Linked DNA regions of Homo sapiens: regions 1, 2 and 4 are each linked to region 3. The links are contacts of gene promoters, found by promoter capture Hi-C in blood cells and fetal thymus (Javierre and others, 2016). All regions are on one chromosome and are shown on one strand. Each heading gives the region's core, a stretch centred on a gene start or on the middle of the fragment in contact. The rest is flanking DNA. Distances are from core to core; before and after follow the strand shown.

What was found. Contacts are between HindIII fragments. The CHiCAGO score rates a contact against its expected background, and 5 or more counts as called.
Region 1: a fragment that was not itself captured here is called in contact with the fragment with the promoter of TYRO3 in region 3 in 2 of 17 cell types (M2 macrophages and M1 macrophages); the score reaches 6.0 in M2 macrophages.
Region 2: a fragment that was not itself captured here is called in contact with the fragment with the promoter of TYRO3 in region 3 in 1 of 17 cell types (M1 macrophages); the score reaches 5.1 in M1 macrophages.
Region 4: a contact is called between a fragment that was not itself captured here and the fragment with the promoter of TYRO3 in region 3, in 2 of 17 cell types (endothelial precursors and M1 macrophages). The highest score is 5.9, in endothelial precursors.

What each region holds. Positions count from the first base shown.
Region 1 is chr15:41,695,451-41,700,493 of GRCh38, forward strand. MGA (MAX dimerization protein MGA) reads left to right here. Exons shown (of 24, transcript NM_001400225.1): 3 at 625-1,573; 4 at 3,413-3,491; 5 at 3,614-3,709. Among named protein-coding and RNA genes, the nearest start is that of MIR626, 6.4 kb to the left of the region's middle. The HindIII fragment of the contact is 5,283 bases long and covers 686-5,043 here.
Region 2 is chr15:41,777,207-41,782,176 of GRCh38, forward strand. The region is part of intron 2 of MAPKBP1 (mitogen-activated protein kinase binding protein 1); the gene reads left to right. Among named protein-coding and RNA genes, the nearest start is that of MAPKBP1, 5.2 kb to the left of the region's middle. The HindIII fragment of the contact is 1,930 bases long and covers 1,308-3,237 here.
Region 3 is chr15:41,557,710-41,562,737 of GRCh38, forward strand. It overlaps TYRO3 (TYRO3 protein tyrosine kinase), which reads left to right and starts at 1,503. Exons shown (of 19, transcript NM_006293.4): 1 at 1,503-1,672; 2 at 3,418-3,601; 3 at 3,830-3,930; 4 at 4,839-5,009. The coding sequence starts at 1,549. RefSeq lists enhancers at 922-1,423, 1,990-2,631, 4,664-5,028 and silencers at 1,152-1,241, 1,187-1,353, 1,292-1,431, 1,442-1,611, 1,918-2,118. The HindIII fragment of the contact is 16,850 bases long and covers 1-4,181 here.
Region 4 is chr15:41,748,694-41,753,037 of GRCh38, forward strand. It overlaps MGA (MAX dimerization protein MGA), which reads left to right. Exons shown (of 24, transcript NM_001400225.1): 16 at 1-234; 17 at 418-1,922. Among named protein-coding and RNA genes, the nearest start is that of MAPKBP1, 24 kb to the right of the region's middle. The HindIII fragment of the contact is 1,341 bases long and covers 645-1,985 here.

The sequences.
Region 1 (5,043 bases), core at 2,077-4,576, 140 kb after region 3:
TAGTGGGATTACAGGCGTGAGCCATCGCTCCTGCCCAATTTTTTATTTCTACCATATTCTCAAGATACATTGGTACAGTTCTTAGGCTTTCAATGGATGATTGGGAGGAGGGGGAAACTAGATGTTTATGTTGTTTTTGGATGAATTATACACAATATATCTGGGTCATACGTATTTGCCTTTAACTCCCTATCTTTTATTTTGGAAGAATTAGTGGTGAATTCTTTATATTGAAAGTGAGTTTTTCAATTTTAAAGTTGGAAAATCATCTGGCAACATCATGACTATACTAAAAACCAATGAATTGTATACTCTAAAATTGCTGCAATATTATGTTTTATGTTATGTGAATTTAATCTCAAAACATACAGGAAAATATCAGCTGGCAGTTTAATGGCCCTTTCCGGTTTGTGTTGCAATTCTTAGTTGTGATGGATGTGTGTTCGCTTTACAGGGTTGTTAATCACCGTGTGGATTTTTAGAGTTTTTGAGTGTTTTTGAGGAATGGCTCAGGAAATCTGATGTGTTACTTGGATTCCTAACATCTTTTTTTTTTTTTCTCTTCAAGTCTTGTTAATGGATCATTTTGTACTTTTAAAATCCCTTTCTCCTCTCTCTCTCCAGTCTTATTGCCAGCAGTTTTGAAGATGACTCCCGTGTAGCCTCACCGTTAGACCAGAACGGAAGCTTCAATGTTGTTATTAAAGAGGAACCTCTAGATGATTATGACTACGAACTTGGTGAGTGCCCAGAAGGGGTCACTGTGAAACAGGAAGAGACAGATGAAGAGACGGATGTATACTCAAACAGTGATGATGATCCTATACTAGAGAAACAGCTAAAGAGGCACAATAAAGTTGACAACCCAGAAGCTGACCATCTATCTTCTAAATGGCTTCCAAGCAGCCCATCAGGTGTTGCTAAAGCTAAAATGTTCAAATTAGACACTGGAAAGATGCCAGTAGTCTATCTGGAGCCCTGTGCTGTCACCAGAAGCACAGTTAAGATTTCTGAACTCCCCGATAACATGCTTTCCACATCTCGAAAGGATAAATCTTCTATGTTGGCAGAATTGGAATATTTGCCTACATACATTGAAAATTCCAATGAGACTGCCTTCTGCTTAGGCAAGGAATCAGAAAATGGTCTTAGAAAACATTCACCAGATCTCAGAGTGGTACAAAAATATCCCTTACTGAAAGAGCCTCAGTGGAAATATCCTGATATATCTGACAGCATTAGCACAGAAAGAATACTCGACGATTCAAAGGATTCAGTTGGAGACTCACTTTCAGGAAAAGAGGACTTGGGCAGAAAGAGAACAACTATGCTTAAGATTGCAACAGCCGCAAAGGTAGTGAATGCTAATCAGAATGCCTCTCCAAATGTCCCTGGAAAAAGAGGAAGGCCACGAAAATTGAAACTCTGTAAGGCAGGACGACCACCTAAGAACACAGGAAAGTCTTTAATTTCTACAAAGAATACACCTGTAAGCCCTGGGAGTACCTTTCCAGATGTGAAGCCTGATCTGGAAGATGTGGATGGTGTTCTCTTTGTTTCCTTTGAATCAAAGGTAAGATTGTAATTTTCAGGATTCTTTAAGGCTAATTAGTCATACTTGAATTGTATACTGGCTTGTAAGTAACTCGATTTACAATCTAGTTTTGTGATATCTATTTGTGAGGGTGTATGGGGGGTGGAGTTGGGAGGGAAGTGTCTCCAAAATGTTTGGTTTAGTTAATAGGAATAACTTAAGATACTTCATTTGAATAGACTTAAAAAAGTATGTCTTGCTTAGATTTCAGTTTACGATTTTTGCATAGCTGTGTTTAAAAAAAGTCTTCGGGTCTTACTGGAATTTTCATCATTATGGATTTTGGAAAGGACTAAAAATACATGAAATATTTACTAACTCTTTGGTGACGCTCCATTTCTTTTACCTCCTGGTTTTCTTTTATTTTTCTTTTCTTTTTTTTTTTTTTTTGAGACAGAGTCTTGCTCTGTTGCCCAGGCTGGAGTTCAGTGGCACGATCTCAGCTCACTGCAATCTCCGTCTCCCGAGTTCAAGCCATTCTCGTGCCCCAGCCTCACGAGTAGCTGGGATTACAGGCGTGTGCCACCACACCCAGCTAATTTTTGTAATTTTGGTAGAGACGGGGTTTTGCAATGTTGGCCAGCTAATTTCTAACTTCTGGCCTCCAGCAGTCTGCCTGCTTCAGCCTCCCAAAGTGCTGGGATTACATGCATGAGCCACCGCTCCTGGCCCTGGTTTTCAGTAGTAGTAGTAGAGTACCATTGGAGAACCAAATATTAACAGTCATCTTAACTCTCCTGTCTTACACATTGAAGTCTCTGTTTATTCCACTCTGACTCTTCAACCAGATTATTTTTCTTGGAAATTTTTATAGAAGCCCAGTCTTTTTTTATTTATTTTTTGAGATGGAGTCTCGGTCTGTGGCTCATGCTGGAGTGCAGTAGCGCAATCTTGGCTCACTGCAAACTCCGCCTCCTGTGTTCTTGCCATTCCCCTGCCTCAGACTCCCGAGTAGCTGGGACTACAGGTGCTCGCCACCATGCCCGGCTAATTTTTTTTGTATTTTTAGTAGAGACGGGGTTTCACCATATTAGCCAGGATGGTCTCGATCTCCTGGCCTCGTGATCCTCCTGCCTCAGCCTCCCAAAGTGCTGGAATTACAAGCGTGAGCCACTGCCCCTGGCCTCTTTTTTTTTTTTTTTTTGAGACGGAATCTTGCTCTGTCACCAGCTGGAGTGCAGTGGCACAATCTTGGCTCACTGCAACCTCTGTTTCCCGGGTTCAAGCAGTTCCCCTGCCTCAGCCTCCCGAGTAGCTGGGACTACAGGTGTGCATCACCATGCCCAGCTATTTTTTTTATTTTAGTAGAGACAGGGTTTCACCATGTGGCCAGGATGGTCTCAATCTCCTGACCTTGTGATCCACCTGCCTCGGCCTCCCAAAGTGCTGGGATTATAGGCGTGAGCCACTGTGCCAGGCTGTCTTTCTTAATTGACTACACAGATGTTGGATATTTAATCCCTTCTACCTGTTCTTTTCCTCCCTTCTTGTTAGCTGAGTAAGCTATCTGAATATAGGCTCTGAGAAGTGAACATGCAAATTGGCGTATACTTTGAGGTCAGTTAGCTCAGTATGACATCGTATTCACATTTTTTTACTTCCCCCTTTTCCCCTTCTGATTATTAAAGTAATATTAATGTAGAACACTTAGAAAATATCAAAAAGTATGAAAAAATTGCTCCTGTTCTGCCAATGTTAGCGTAACTGTAGGCATGGAGATATTTTCCTTCTGGTCTTTAAGTTTTTTTTAATCCTGTTTTACATTTAAGTTTTCAGAAGCAATATGAACTACTATTTTTTTTTTTTTTTGATGTATAGGAAGCTCTAGACATTCATGCAGTTGATGGGACAACAGAAGAATCTTCTAGTCTCCAGGCATCAACCACAAATGACTCAGGTATTATAAAATAGTATAAAAAGAGTTGTATTTGTGGTTTGGGCTCCAGCAATGAAACATGCAACATTCATTTGTCTGTAGTGTACAGTAGCTTATTTTATTACTATTTATTTTGGGTGTAGGTTACAGAGCAAGAATTTCCCAGTTGGAAAAGGAATTGATAGAAGATTTGAAGACTTTGCGGCACAAGCAGGTGATACATCCTGGTCTTCAAGAAGGTAATAGACTAGCGACTTCTTTTTTTTTGTTTTCTTTTTTTCTTTCTTCCCTACTGTTTCTCCTCTTTTTCCTCTCTCTTTCTCATCTCTTTTTTTCTGTTTTTTCCTCTTTCTTTCTAGCCTTGATTTCATTTCTTTCAGCACGTCTTTCAGTTTGCATATTTTTCTCTTCTCTGTCTCCATAATTCTTCCCTTTAGTTTAAAAACCATGTCTAATATCTTATGTAAGAAAAAAATGTATCATGGTAAAGCAAGTGATATTTTCTTTGTTCATTCTTATAACCTGGTATTCTCCCCTTCCCGTTTCTCATCTTAATTTGGTTGCTTTTGTTTATGTGTGTGTGTGTGTGTTTGTTTGAGACGGAGTTTCGCTCTGTCGCCCAGGCGGCTGGAGTGCAGTGGTGCAATCTCTGCTCACTGCAAGCTCCGCCTCCTGGGTTCATGCCATTCTCCTGCCTCAGCCTCCCAAGTAGCTGGGACCACAGGCGCCTGCCACCGCGCCTGGCTAATTTTTTTGTATTTTTAGTAGAGACGGTTTCACCGTGTTAGCCAGGATGGTCTTGATCTCCTGACCTTGTGATCCGCCCGCCTCGGCCTCCCAATTATGTGTTTGTTTTTATAATTTTGGAGGAAGGGTCTTCCTTGTCCTTTAGTAGTATATTTAGGTGTGTAAACAGTAGAATACTTTTCTGTCTCATGTTTTGGCTGCAAACATCTATTTTATATATTTGATGTACCACTGGGAAGTTAATTTAAAATTTTCATTATCTTTTTTTTTTAAAATTTTACTTTGAGTTCTGGGATACGTGTACAGAATGTGCAGGTTACATAGTTATACATGTGCTATGGTGGTTTCCTGTACCTATCAACCTGTCATCGAGGTTTTTTTTTTTTTTTTTTTTTTTGATGCGCAGTCTCGCTCTCGCCCAGGCTGGAGTGCAGTGGCACGATCTCAGCTCACTGCAAGCTCTGCCTCCTGGGTTCACACCACTCTCCTGCCTCAGCCTCCCAAGTAGCTGGGACTACAGGCGCCTGCTACCATGCCCGGCTAATTTTTTTTGTATTTTTAGTAGAGACGGGGTTTCACTGTGTTAACCAGGATGGTCTCGATCTCCTGACCTCATGATCTGCCCGCCTCGGCCTCCCAAAGTGCTGAGATTACAGGCGTGAGCCACCGCGCCCGGCCCTGTCATCTAGGTTTTAAGCCCTGCATGCATTAGGTGTTTGTCCTAATGCTCTCCCTCCCCACCAACAGGCTCTGGTGTGTGATGTTCCCCTCCTTGCATCCATGTGTTCTCATTGTTCATCTCCCACTTACGAGTGAAAACATGCAG
Region 2 (4,970 bases), core at 1,023-3,522, 220 kb after region 3:
GGTGCATGTCTGTAATCCCAGCTACTCGGGAGGCTGAGGCAGGAGACTCGCCTGAACCCGGGAGGCTGAGGTTGCAGTGAGCTCAGATCCTGCCAGTGCACTCTAGCCTGGGTAACAGAGCAAGACTCCGTCTCAAAAAAAAAAAAAAAAGGAAAGGCTTCACAGAGGAAGGGATGCTTGAACTGTGAGTCCTAAGGCAGGTGGAGAAGAGCTCTCCAGGAAAACAGTGGAAAAGGGGCATCCCTGGCAAGACCATTTACCATTCCCTGTTTAAAATAGGAATTCAGTGCTTCAGACTGCTTTAGATGGCTTTGTCTGTCCTGAAGCTGTGTATGAAAGAAATACTTAGCTGAAGTTGAATGACCCTTGAATGGTCTGGCAGCAAAATGACTGGTGCATATCTTTAGCACCCAAGAGGAGTAGCTGTCTTTGTGCGCCCAGGACCCTAGAGATGCCAGACTCCCCACACTCCTTAGTAAAAGGTCTCTACCTGAGATTATTCTAAAAGCCTGCCTTGTGATTACTCTAGTGTATTAAGCTCTGTGAGTTGCTCTAACATGTGGTGGCTGTGAGTAATCATGATAACAGGAAATTTGTGATTCATGGATAGCTAATTCTCAAATAAAATTTGAAGACAAAAAGGTACATGCCCCTTTTGGGGGGCAAAGAAGGAAATGTCAGAAAGCTTTTATGCAGCTCTTACTTCAGATGGCCTCCTGCTTTGAATTATACTGTTCTTTCTATCTAAAGTAGCCTTCTCCTTTACACCAAATTGTACACTTATTTTTAGGTCCAATTCTGTATTTATCAGAGCCACAGGGCTTTCTGTGACTAGTCCCCCACCTTGAAACCAATATCTTATTGTTATTTTATGTATGTCTTCATTTCCTAAGGATCGGGGTCATGCTCTTTATTTCCTTTACATCACACCGTTTAGGACAGTGTAAGATAGGCAGTAAGTACTAAAAAAAATAAATGAGACTAATTTAAAGATGTCAAATATAGTGCGGGATAAACTTGGACATCCAGGTGAATAAAATAATCAGGAGGAATTTATGACCTCTTTAGAAGAGAGATCAAAACTACGATTAATAAAATGGTGACAAAGAAGTAGAGATGCAGCCTAATTAGGTGTGAAGAACATAAGAGAGAAGAAGTCCACGTATGCAGAAAGCAGTGCTCAGTAAAGGGTTCTTAATTCAGGGGAGACCTAGTTAAAAATATGGCTAAAAGCTGGTGTGAGAGAGCCAGTGGAGGTGGAGATTTAAGTTACATCAAAGAGTAGATGAGTGCTGAGATTTTTATTAAGCTTTTTCAGAGGGAGGGGAGTCTCTTCAGTGGAGTACATTGGAAAAGACTGATTTAAAGTTTTATGCTAAATCAGCTTAGTCTTGGTGAAGTGTGACTTGAAGTTATCAGTAAATACCCAAGTTCAAATCCTGTAGACTTGTCATTTCCTGCCTCTCATCTCTAAGTTGGGCTGTGTTTTCCTTAAGAAGCAAATGTATGTGTTCTTGATAGCTAACCCTCCTCCTCTGAAAGTTTCTGAAAGATTTTTATGTGGAGGGAGCTGGGCTTGTTTTCAAGGACAAAGGATAGAAATGGACCAAAGCCCAGCAGGCAAGATTTAAGTTAGGGTTACAAAAGGATTGTCTGTGCTGGAGGGTTGCTAGATTTTTAAAAAGTAACTGAAGGAGGTATTGAGATCGTCCTCCTCCTTAAGAGCCATTAATCTGATCTAGGTTATATTATTCCTTCTGGAAACAATGGGTAAGATGACTTTCTTCTAGTTGTGTTTTTTTAATTGTAAATCTAATTCTTCTTTCTCTATTTGTTTCCCCAAGTTTTTTTCCTGTATAGTTGTGTGGTGGTACTTCGAGCCTTTTGAGAAGTGACTCTAAGAAGAGTTTGGTTGGGTGGGTTTCATGAAGGAGAAAAAGTGGCAATACTCTAATTTCAGCTTTTGCTCAGTGTTTGAACGCATATATGATTTGGTATTGGGGAAACATACTCATTTTTTTCGAGACGGAGTCTTGCTCTGTTGCCCAGGCTGGAGTACAGTGGCGTGATCTCGGCTCACTGCAAACTCTGCCTCCCGGGTTCAAGCGATTCTCCTGCCTCAGCCTCCTGAGTAGCTGGGATTACAGGCGCGTGCCACCACGCCGGGCTAATTTTTTTATTTTTAGTAGAAACGGTGTTTCACCATGTTGGTCAGGCTGGTCTCAAACTCCTGACCTCGTGATCTGCCTGCCTCAGCCTCCCAAAGTGCTGGGATTACAGGTATGAGCCACCACGCCCGGCCAGTTATTTTTGTTTTTTGTAGAGACAGAGTCTTACGATGTTGCTCAGGCTGGTCTCAAACTTCTGGCCTCAAGGGCTCCTCCTGCCACAGCCTCCCAAAGTGCTGGGATTACAGGCATGAGCCACCATGCCCAGCCCCTGCCTTTCTGAGTAGCTGGGACTAGTGGTGCTTGCCTCTGCGCCAGGCTCCAGTCATTTCTTAGTGTTCAATACACACGCTCTGAGTTCTCCACATAGAATAGATGACTAAGAGTGGATGTCCCTGTGGCCAGCAGCTATGCCCCTCACCAGCCTTTGTGAATGACCTTCAAAGCTCTTGTTGAATTTTCTGTCTCTGAGGTCTCTTGAAATAAGGCTTGTGAAGTGTCTTGAGATCCTCACAACAGGTGGTATACAATGAAAAATGTCAATGTTCTCCTAGTTTTGTTTCTTTGATCACCATTTCATCCCTCCTTCCGGTGCCTGCAGCTGCCCTCAGCCTTCAAAGTGATTCTCACTGGAGAGAGAGGATGCTTCTCTCCCTGGACCCAACACCTCTTCATTTACTGTCTAAAAATAGCCCAGCCTCTTCAGGCTGGGAGTTGTCTTTCGAAACCTCCTCTCACCTACTTGGCCTCACTCATTTCAAAGTGGAAGAGCACTACTGCTTTCCAAGTTTTTCTCTCTTTCAGTTTGCAATTTAGGGCAGGTTCCCTTCTTGGATTTGAGTCAATGTCTTATTTCCTGCTGGTATTTTGAATGTCTTTCATTTGTCACCTGTGTATTTTCATTTCTTGACTGATGAAAAAACAGGTAGAAATGAGGCTTCAGCCTGACATCTGTAACCTCCCCACCAACCCTCTGAGTCTGAAGTTGGGCTTGATGCTGTTATCACTGACCCTTTGTTTGGAGAAAACAGTCCAAGGTTTGAAATTGGGGCTATGTTTATTCAAACTAAGCTTCTCTGAGCACATGGTCTGTCCCACTCATCCTCAGAGTATCCGTTGGTTTTACTTCATGTTCAGACTGCAGTGTTGTTAAAGAAATAAAGCTACAGTGTTTTCAGAAGGATTTGTTATATTATACTTCATGTTCCCACTGCTCCAGGCTAAGCGTCTCCTCTGGGCTCCATTGTTTAATGCAGGACAAAGCCAGGTTTTCTGGCAGCTTCCTTTTCATAGCAATTCTCAGTAGAGGTATAGAATGAGACCTGCCTACCTTCTTGGGTGTTTATTACCCCATTTGTGGATTTTACTTTAACTTCTGTTACCTTAAAAAAAAAAAAAAAAGTTGGTGAGGAAGGCAAGAAATAAAAGTGAGTATGACAGCCAGACTGGGTAGTGTGGATTTTTAGCGTTGGTATTTTTGAATGTCCAGATTTTCCAAATCCTTCCTTCCTTCCTTTCAACAGTTATAGCAACAGGTCCAGTGCTTCTTCATTGGTCACATTATTTTCCTCTGGTTTTGAAGGACACTTAACAGAAGAATGAGTTTACAGTATGGATAGCTCCTCCTAGATTTCAAGGGAGTAAATTCCCCCCTCTCATTTTGTCACAATGTTTGCAATGCTTTTTTTTTGCTTTTTTTTTTTTCCTTTTTTCTTTTTTGAGACAGAGTCTCACTCTGTCACCTAGGCTGAAGTGCAGTGGCGTGATCTCAGCTCACTGCAACCTCCACCTCCCGGGTTCAAGTGATTCTCTTGCCTCAGCCTCCCGAGTAGCTGGGATTACAGGCATGTGCCACCATGCCTGGCTACTTTTTGTTTTTTCAGTAGAGACAGGATTTCAACATGTTGGCCAGGCTGGTCTCGAACTCCTGACCTCAAGTGATCTGCCTGCCTCGGCCTCCAAAAGTGTGCAATGCTTTTTTTGGTTGCTTCCCTATTTGGTAAAACAATGCTGTGGGTTTTTTTGTTTTTTTTTTTTTCTTGCTGGGATTTTAAAGTTTATATGCCTTATCTCTCCTCCTAAAACTGTAATGAAGCTAAAGATATTTTCCTTTCCCTGCTATGCCGGGCATGGTGGTGCACACCTATAGCCCCAGCATCTTAGGAGGCTGAGGCGGGATGATTGCTCGAGCCCAGGAGTTTGAGGCTGCAGTGAGCTATGATGGCACCACTGTATTCCAGCCTGGGCAACAGAGTGAGACCCCATCTTAAAAACAAACAAAAACTGTCTGCCCCTCTGTTTATAATTGAGATTTTAATTTACTTGAAGATCTTAGAACAACCCTTTGTGAAACCATATGGCTGATTTTTTTTTTTCCACTTTGTCAAATGTTCTTTTGGAGAAATCCTGAGAAGAAAGTTTATTTGGTGGTTCAGGATTTGAGTGTTGCTCCTTATTTATCACAGTTCTCATCAGCCTTTGAGACCCATCTTCCTTTAGTGGCTCTTCTGGTCTTTTCTTCATAAGTTTGGCTGATGCTGTTACAGATGCTAGCACTTAAGAAAACAAGACTTTAAAAAATTATGAAATACAGGCCGGGCGCAGTGGCTCATGCCTGTAATCCTAGCATTTTGGGAGGCCGAGGCGGGCGGATCATGAGGTCAGGAGATCGAGACCATCCTGGCTAACACGGTGAAACCCTGTCTCTACTAAAAATACAAAAAAAAAAAAAAAAAAAATTAGCTGGGCGTGGTGGCGGGCGCCTGTAGGCCCAGCTACTCGCGAGGCTGAGGCAGGAGAATG
Region 3 (5,028 bases), core at 253-2,752:
CCATCCATGTCTTGACAGTGCCTCATGAGTCTCTCCTCCTGCTGCCGCCTGGGGGCGCCCCCAGCTGGGTCTCAGGCTGCTGCCAGCACTGCTGTTGTTATCATTAGGGTAATTAATAAACAAGCACTGCTGGGGCCAAGTGGAAGAAGAGGCAGGCCCCTGCTGCTCAGGAGAATCCCTGAAAAGATCCAGTGAGCCTGCGGCAACCGGAGCTGAGTGGCTGGTCCCTCCTCTCTACCCAGGACCTCTGGAAGGGGTGTGGGGTGGGCTTCCCCCTGGAGGGAAGGGCAAGGGGAGGAGCACACTTGGTAGGCTTGGTTTGGAACCAGCTCTGCATGTGCCTAACAGGATGTCTGTGGGCAAGGCCACCCTCGTGATTACTGGTTGTGGGGCAGGCTCTGAAGCAATTATTCATTCATTTAACAGGCATCTGCCTATTTATTTATGGAAAGCCTACTGTGTGCAAGGTGGTCTACTAATAATAGCTAATGTTTGACTGGACAGTGTGACGACACAGCCAACTTTCACACCAGGTCCTGGGAAAAGGGGTAGAAGCAGGGGAAGCAACCAGGAAAAATGACAGCCCAAAAAGATACGGGCAATTAGGCTTTGGCCTGTGTAGTGTAGTGGTGGGGATATATATTAGGTAAAACCTGGGGATTACCAAGATCTTGGGAAACTCAGGACCCAAGTTGGAAAACATACGGCAATTGGGGCTGGAGAAAATGGGCATTTTTCAGGTGGGAGGGACTTGGAGATAAAGGCATGGCAATAGGACATGAATATGGGGATTTTGGGTGAATGGCTCAATGAAAGGGAGGCACGAAGGGATGCTAGCCGATCCTGTTGGGGGAGCCCCGGGTCACGGCAGTTTCGGGGAGCCAGATGGATGGGAGTGTCTAGGGGTTGAGGTGCTCTAAGTCCTGAGAGGGGGATGCTGGATTCTGGGATCAGAGTCCGAACAAGAGTTGGGGTGTGGTGGGGGCTGACAGCGGGGTTTTGAGGGAAGGCTCTGGAGGGCTGGGTTAGAAAAGATGCCGGAGCGGGTTTAGGGAAAGGAGGGGCGTGGCCGGGGAGCCCATCCTGGAGGCCAAGCCGGATCCTCAGGTTTGGCCAGGGGGCGGCTGGGGCCGGCGTGCCGGCGGGGCGCCGGCGGGGCCGCGGGGGTTTGCGGCGCTGGCTGGGATTCGCGCTCCGAGCCAGTCGCCGGGGCTCCGCGGGGGGGCGGTGCGAGCTCGGGCTGCGGGCGGGCCGGGAGGAGGCGGCGGCTCCGAGAAGAACATGAATCAGCGGCGGCGACGGCGGCGACGGCAGTGGAAGGAGCGCGGTGGCGCGGGAGCGGCCCCGGGGACCCCGCGCTGCTGACGGCGGCGACCGCGGCCGGAGGCGGGCGCGGGTCTCGGAGGCGGTCGCCTCAGCACCGCCCCACGGGCGGCCCCAGCCCCTCCCGCAGCCCTCCTCCCTCCCGCTCCCTTCCCGCCGCCTCCTCCCCGCCCTCCTCCCTCCTCGCTCGCGGGCCGGGCCCGGCATGGTGCGGCGTCGCCGCCGATGGCGCTGAGGCGGAGCATGGGGCGGCCGGGGCTCCCGCCGCTGCCGCTGCCGCCGCCACCGCGGCTCGGGCTGCTGCTGGCGGCTCTGGCTTCTCTGCTGCTCCCGGAGTCCGCCGCCGCAGGTAGGGGCTGGCACGGGAGGCGGCGGGAAGCGGGGGGCTGCGGAGGGGCGCGGCCGGGGGTCGGAGCCCGGGGCGGGCCTGGCGGGCTGGAGTCGGGGTGGGGGTCCGGAGCCGAAGGCCGAGGCTCGGAGCCGGGACAGGGCACGCTGCGGAGTGCTCGCCGCCAGATCTCCGGCCGGGCCCCCACCCCCAACTTTCTGGCGCTCGGGGCTCTTCTGGCGGGGTGGAAGAGAAGGGAGCGGGGTGTGGGCTGTGTGGTCAGCGGGGAGTGTTTGGGACTGCATTTTCCCGCCTCGATGTTCCCAGCTGTTAGCTCCCTCCTTCCCAGTACTGGGGACCCCATTCTGCCTGCCCCGCACGCGAAGGTCCGCCTCGGAAACCACACGGGCCGGGGCTGGGCACCCAAAGGCCACCCTGATACCATTTAGGTACACAGGGGCTGTGAGGGTGCCCAGTCACAAAAAACAAATGGGCACACTCGAGTTCCTGTGCCCTCAGAGCTTCCTGAAAGCAGAACCTTGGAGAGGATGGGCTGGTGCCAGGTTGCTGGTCTTTGGGAGGGGTTAGTCTTGTGTTCCCACATAGCCACTGAGGCATTTGCTGGTGACAAGAGCGTTCCATGCAGCACGGTGCTCTCCAAGTTCCCACCCCGCACCTCGGGGACTGATGGGCATATAGGGAGCGGGAGGCTGGCCCCCATCCTGTGACTGGTCCTGAGAGGGTGAAGGGAGCAGGGAAGAGCCACAGGCCAGGACAGCGGCCACCCGCTGGCATCTTCTCTTGAGACAGCATTCCTTGCCATATCAGCCTCTCAGGGAAGGGAAGGGAAACGGGGTGACGAGTATTTACAAGCCGAAAGGTGCGGACCTGATGCTCAGGGAGCCCACGACTTTGCCTAGAGTCACACAGCAAAGGGTGAGAAGAAGCAGGGCTGGATTTCAGTTATGTGGATACTTGACCTGCCCCTCTCTCTGCTTAAAAACATGCCAGGAGGCCAGGAGAGGTGCGTGTATGTGTGTGTGTGTGTGTGTGTGTGTGTGTGTGTGTGCGCGCGCGCGCGCGCGCTCGCACGCAAGTTCCAAAGAGTGGCCCCTGTTAATGTGGCAGTGGCTCAGGGGTCTTAGGCTCCCTGCTCAGGGCCCCAGCCCTCCCTTCTGCCTCCCACCTTCCTAGCACTCGCCCCTGCCCACATTCAGGTATTAATAGAGTGGATGGCTGCCAGGAAGGCTGCCATGTGTTTGATCTGACGTGGTTTTGCAGCCATATGTTCTCCACTTCAGGGGAGCACCCCCTCCTTTCCTTCTTCAGCCCTGCTCCATTTGGTAAGGTTGGGTGCAGAGGGTGCTGGCAGCAATTCAGGGTCTGGGCTGACACCTTGGGTGGAGAGCTGGCAGCCTGTTGCACTAGTTGGGTGCAGCAGTCATTCCTAGAGCAGTGCCTGCCCCAGTAGGGTAACTCCCATCGTTTCAGCCCAGCCTGCCTTCCTTTTGCTGTCTGGGCTCAGAAGGAGGACATGGGGAAGAGGTCCTTAGAGCCGGAGGGAACTTGGAGAGCTTGCCATGCCCCTTCCCTTCGCCCAGGTCCAGCGACCTTCCCTTCCACACTGTCCTACCTCTGCTTCCTTGACTTTGGCTGAGAAAGAGCCCTCTGTCTGACACAGAAGCTACCTTCTAGAAGAGAATGGGAACTGTTTACAGAGACAGAGTCCCTCTCAAGGCTGACACATGTTCCTTCCCACCCCTCAGGTCTGAAGCTCATGGGAGCCCCGGTGAAGCTGACAGTGTCTCAGGGGCAGCCGGTGAAGCTCAACTGCAGTGTGGAGGGGATGGAGGAGCCTGACATCCAGTGGGTGAAGGATGGGGCTGTGGTCCAGAACTTGGACCAGTTGTACATCCCAGTCAGCGAGCAGCACTGGATCGGCTTCCTCAGGTGCAGGCCTGTGGGGGAAGGTGTGGGCTGCCAGCCAGGGGGCAGGCTATGCTCTTTCCTTGGGGATTGGGAGCTGGGGCCCTCTCCTGATGCCCAGAGGTCTGTGGTTTTTTTATTTGGCTACCTGTGGGACCTTCCAGAAGTGGGGGCAGGCTGAACTCATCAAGTTTGCCCAGCAGAGCTGCCGCCCTTGCCCTCGGAAGCAAGCCTCGTATCCTGTTTCCACAGCCTGAAGTCAGTGGAGCGCTCTGACGCCGGCCGGTACTGGTGCCAGGTGGAGGATGGGGGTGAAACCGAGATCTCCCAGCCAGTGTGGCTCACGGTAGAAGGTGAGGAGGCAGAGCCATATGGGCGTGTTGGCCTGGAGCACGTGCTGTCTGCTGGTGACTATACCTCTGCAGCGGAGAACTCAGTAGAAGCTGGGCTGCCCCACTGCTCTGTGGGGCCTGGTTGTCCAGGCTGTAGGCCCACTCCAGATGTCGGAAGACCCTACCAGTTGGAGTTGGGTATCTGAGAACCAAGGGACCAACTGGGATCCACAACCTGTGGGGTGCAGTCTGTTTCCGTTGCTTGAGCAACAAGCTTCAAGCATCCATCTGGGACTGGACCCTGTTCTGCCAAGTGGCCTGGCCAGCAGGGGGAGGGGAGGAAGGCTCTGCAGCTGCGGGAGCTCAGAGCTGTTCAGCCCAGGAAAACAAAGTGACTAAGAAAGTAACAAAGGGCCCTGAATGGGAGCTGGGGCCTGGCAGCAGAACTCTGCTAAAGCTCTCACCCACTCCCCTGAGTTTTATGCCCCTCTCCCAGCTCTCCACCCCCAGTCTCCTCTCTTACTGCAAGAAGAGCTGTCCAAATCTGCCATGCCTAAGGGGGCAGCATGGAAGATGTGTCTAAGGTGCCAGGCATGGTGGCGTGTGCCTGTAGTCCCAGCTACTCCGGAGGCTAAGGCCAGAGGATCACTTGAGCCCCCAGGAGTTCCAGGCCAGCCTGGGCAACATAGAGAGACCTCCCCGCGACCAATCTCAAAAAAAAAAAAAAAAAAAAAAAATTCCTAAGGAGCCTGAAAAAGAGAAGCACCGCCTACCTCTCAAGCTAGATGCCTGTTCTGCTGTTGACCTAATCATAAGGGGCCTGTGGGAACCTTCTGCGTGGAGGACTTCAGATGTAAACAGACTTGTGATTTGTACAGTAGGAAGCCAAGAGGTGGCAGGGCTCACTCCTCACTCCCCTTCTCTCCTAGGTGTGCCATTTTTCACAGTGGAGCCAAAAGATCTGGCAGTGCCACCCAATGCCCCTTTCCAACTGTCTTGTGAGGCTGTGGGTCCCCCTGAACCTGTTACCATTGTCTGGTGGAGAGGAACTACGAAGATCGGGGGACCCGCTCCCTCTCCATCTGTTTTAAATGTAACAGGTGAGCAGCCTCAGAAGGG
Region 4 (4,344 bases), core at 65-2,564, 190 kb after region 3:
GTGCTGGACCTCGATTGTTGTTGATTCCAGTGCAGCAGGGTTCTCCTACTCTTAGACCTGTCTCAAACACACAACTTCAGGGACATCGGATGGTCTTGCAGCCTGTTAGGAGTCCAAGTGGAATGAACTTATTCAGGCACCCTAATGGGCAGATTGTCCAGCTTCTACCTTTGCATCAGCTTCGAGGCTCTAATACCCAGCCCAACTTACAGCCTGTCATGTTTCGGAACCCAGGTATAAAGTTCTTTTTTATGAACTTTTCTTTTGTTGAATCACTTGGCCATATGGTATGTTAATACACCAAGATTGTTTTTCTTCATCTCTTAAGAGTTACTTTTCCAAAAAGAAAAGCAAACATTGGAAGTCTTGATATGGGCAGTCATGATTTAAAAATTTCTCTCTTATTTTTTAAACCAGGGTCTGTGATGGGAATCCGGTTACCTGCTCCTTCCAAACCCTCTGAGACTCCGCCATCTTCCACTTCGTCCTCTGCTTTCTCTGTCATGAATCCTGTAATTCAAGCTGTTGGGTCTTCTTCAGCAGTGAATGTTATCACTCAGGCACCATCATTGCTTTCCTCTGGAGCTAGTTTTGTGTCTCAGGCTGGTACATTGACCCTGAGGATTTCTCCTCCTGAACCACAAAGCTTTGCAAGTAAAACAGGCTCTGAAACCAAAATAACTTATAGCTCAGGAGGACAGCCTGTTGGTACAGCCAGTCTTATTCCTCTCCAGTCTGGTAGTTTTGCCTTGTTACAGCTCCCAGGACAAAAGCCTGTTCCTAGCTCCATTCTTCAGCATGTTGCTTCCCTTCAGATGAAGAGAGAATCTCAGAATCCAGACCAGAAAGATGAAACAAACTCAATAAAAAGAGAGCAAGAAACGAAGAAGGTTCTACAGTCAGAAGGAGAGGCTGTAGACCCTGAGGCTAATGTAATAAAACAAAACTCAGGAGCTGCTACCTCAGAAGAAACTCTGAATGATTCCTTGGAAGATAGGGGTGATCATTTGGATGAAGAATGCCTTCCAGAAGAAGGTTGTGCAACTGTCAAACCATCTGAGCATTCCTGTATCACTGGGTCACATACAGATCAAGATTATAAAGATGTTAATGAAGAATATGGGGCTAGGAATCGTAAGAGTTCCAAAGAAAAAGTGGCTGTTCTGGAAGTTAGGACCATTTCTGAAAAAGCCAGTAATAAGACAGTCCAAAATTTAAGTAAAGTACAGCATCAAAAACTTGGTGATGTGAAGGTGGAACAGCAGAAAGGATTTGACAATCCAGAAGAAAACTCAAGTGAATTTCCAGTCACCTTTAAGGAAGAAAGTAAATTTGAATTGTCAGGAAGCAAAGTTATGGAGCAGCAATCTAATCTACAGCCAGAGGCCAAAGAGAAGGAATGTGGAGACTCTCTGGAGAAAGACAGGGAAAGATGGAGAAAACATCTGAAGGGCCCCTTAACCAGGAAATGTGTTGGAGCTTCACAGGAATGTAAGAAAGAGGCAGACGAGCAGTTAATTAAAGAAACAAAGACATGTCAGGAAAATTCAGATGTGTTTCAGCAAGAACAAGGCATCTCTGACTTACTTGGAAAAAGTGGAATTACTGAAGATGCCAGAGTTTTGAAAACTGAATGTGATTCTTGGAGTAGGATTTCTAATCCTTCAGCCTTCTCCATTGTTCCTAGGAGAGCTGCAAAAAGCAGCAGAGGGAATGGACATTTTCAGGGTCACTTACTGCTACCTGGAGAACAGATACAACCAAAGCAAGAGAAGAAGGGTGGGAGAAGCAGTGCTGACTTCACTGTTTTGGATTTGGAAGAAGATGATGAAGATGATAATGAGAAAACTGATGATTCTATTGATGAAATTGTGGATGTTGTTTCTGACTACCAGAGTGAGGAGGTTGATGATGTAGAAAAGGTGGTGAGCCCATTTTTGTTGTGACTGAAACCTAAAGGATTTAAATGATTTATTAAAGACAGAAGCTTTTTCAGAAGAGCACTAAGGCATAATACATTTAATTGGATGCCTAGGTTTAAGATTATGACTTAAATGGCTTAGTAGTTCTTTAGGCTGTGTCAATCAAGCATCATTTATTGAGCTTTTATTCTTTGAGACTTGTCTGGTTTTATGGGAAGGCTGGCTTAAATATTTGGGGGATAGGTGCTTGAGAGTCCCTACCGAGTTAGATTTTTAAAATCCCGAAACCACTACTCCCATTTGACCTCAGTCAATTTCTATGACGTTTTCTATGTGAGGTGGTTGTAGCTTCTCTGGTAGATGTTAATCAGAAACTGGGAATGGGTGACCTTAGAACTAGAGGAGAACTTATTCACTTGCATATAGAGAGATGTTTTTGTTTTTGGAGAAAAACTGGAAAATACCATCATATTCTAGTACCATTTTGCCTTGAGTTGCTTTTATATCCAAAAATTAAATATTTAGTCTCTGGAATTTATATTCTAGACTTTGGTCTTCGTCCTTTGTAATATGACCTTTATGGCCTATTTTTATTATTTTCCTGAAGTTTTTTTTATAGGATTCCTATTTAGGGTTGTTGTATTTACTTAAATAAGTAACTGTCAGGTATTGATACAGTGCAGGAGTTGTACAAACGTTTTCTGTAAAAGGCCAGATAGTAAATAGTTTTAGACTTTGCAGAGAGCTAGATGGCTCTCTGTTGCGACTAATTGACTGCTGTTGTAGTATAAAAGCAGCTGTATTCCATTAAAACTTTAGTAAAAAAGTCCAGGTGCGGTGGCTCACACCCATAATCCCAGCACTTTGGGAGGCCGAGGTGGGTGGATCACCTGACGTCAGGAGTTTGAGACTAGTCTGGCCAACATGACAAAACCCCGTGTCTACTAAAAATACAAAAAATTAGCCAGGTGTGGTGATGGGTGCCTGTAATCCCAGTACTCAGAACGCTGAGGCAGGAGAATCGCTTGAACCCGGGAGGCTGAGGTTGCAGTGAGCCCAGATCGCGCCATTGCACTCCAGCCTGGGCGACAAGAACAAAACTCTGTCTCGGGTTAAAAAAAAAAAAGAAGTTGTTAGTGGGCTGTGGTTTGCTGACCCCTGACATAAGGTCTGATGTAAAACATGGGGAGATCATAACCAGCTGCCTGTGGAGTGCCCTAAAATCTAAACTGTGTCCTTCTTTTCAGGAGCAGATGACAGCCGTCTGCACTGATTGTCATACAACTGCTTGTTTTACAATCTCACTTCCTTGAGATTCATTCTGCCTCTGTGTTATCTGGTCCTTTTCTGTTATTGCTTAACTGCTTTATGCACATAAAATAAGACAAAAAGATTACTGTTTTAAAAATCTAAAATGTTGAAATATTTTATTTTAGCGATGGAGTCTTACTCTGTCGCCCAGGCTGGAGTGCAGTGGTGCGAACTCAGCTCACTGCAACCTCCACCTCTGGGGCTCAAGCAATTCTCCTGCTTCAGCCTCCTGAGTAGCTGAGATTACAGGAGCCTGCCACCGCCCCAGCTAATTTTTGTATTTACGTAGAGATGGGGTTTCACCATCTTGGCCAGGCTGGTCTTAATGTTCTTATATTGGTTATTTGAGTACCTCCATTGTCTCATTTATAAAGGAGGATCTTGCTCTAAAATTGGATGATTCTGTATTCATTTGACTTATACCTTCTCTCCATAGCCTAATCTTTTTCAAGAATGGATGTAAATTCATTGACTTTAGGAGTTATATTGCTGATTTTTTTGTGTTTTTTGCAGTCTCACACTGTAAGTCAGCCCAAGTTAACATGAGACCAAAAAACAGTTCAACTTTAAAACCAGTGAAAACTATTACTATTAGTGGAACTTACATAATAGAACCTTTAAAGTTTTTTTTTTTTTTTTTTTTTTTTTAACAGAGTCTCGCTTTGTCGCCCAGGCTGGAGTGCAGTGGTGCCATCTCGGCTCACTGCATCCTCTGCCTTCTCGGTTCAAGCGATTCTTCTGCCTCAGCCTCCCGAGTAGCTTGGGATTACAGGTGGGCACCACCATGCCCAGCTAATTTTTGTATTTTTTTAGTAAAGACAGGGTTTCACCATATTGGCCAGGCTGGTCTTGAACTCCTGACCTCAGGTGATCCACCCACGTTGGCCTCCCAAAAGTGCTGGGATTACAGGCATGAGCAACTGCCTCCGGCCTGAAGTATCTTAATCATACAAGGAGGCATTGCTTGAATGTACTAATAGGGAATTTGACAAGCAAACAAGTTATACTGACTTTTTTTTTAAAGGTCATATTAAGTGATCTCTAAAATCTAAAGTCTACACTGTTTTTATTTGCACATCTCACACCTACGTTACCTTTATGATTAGCATTG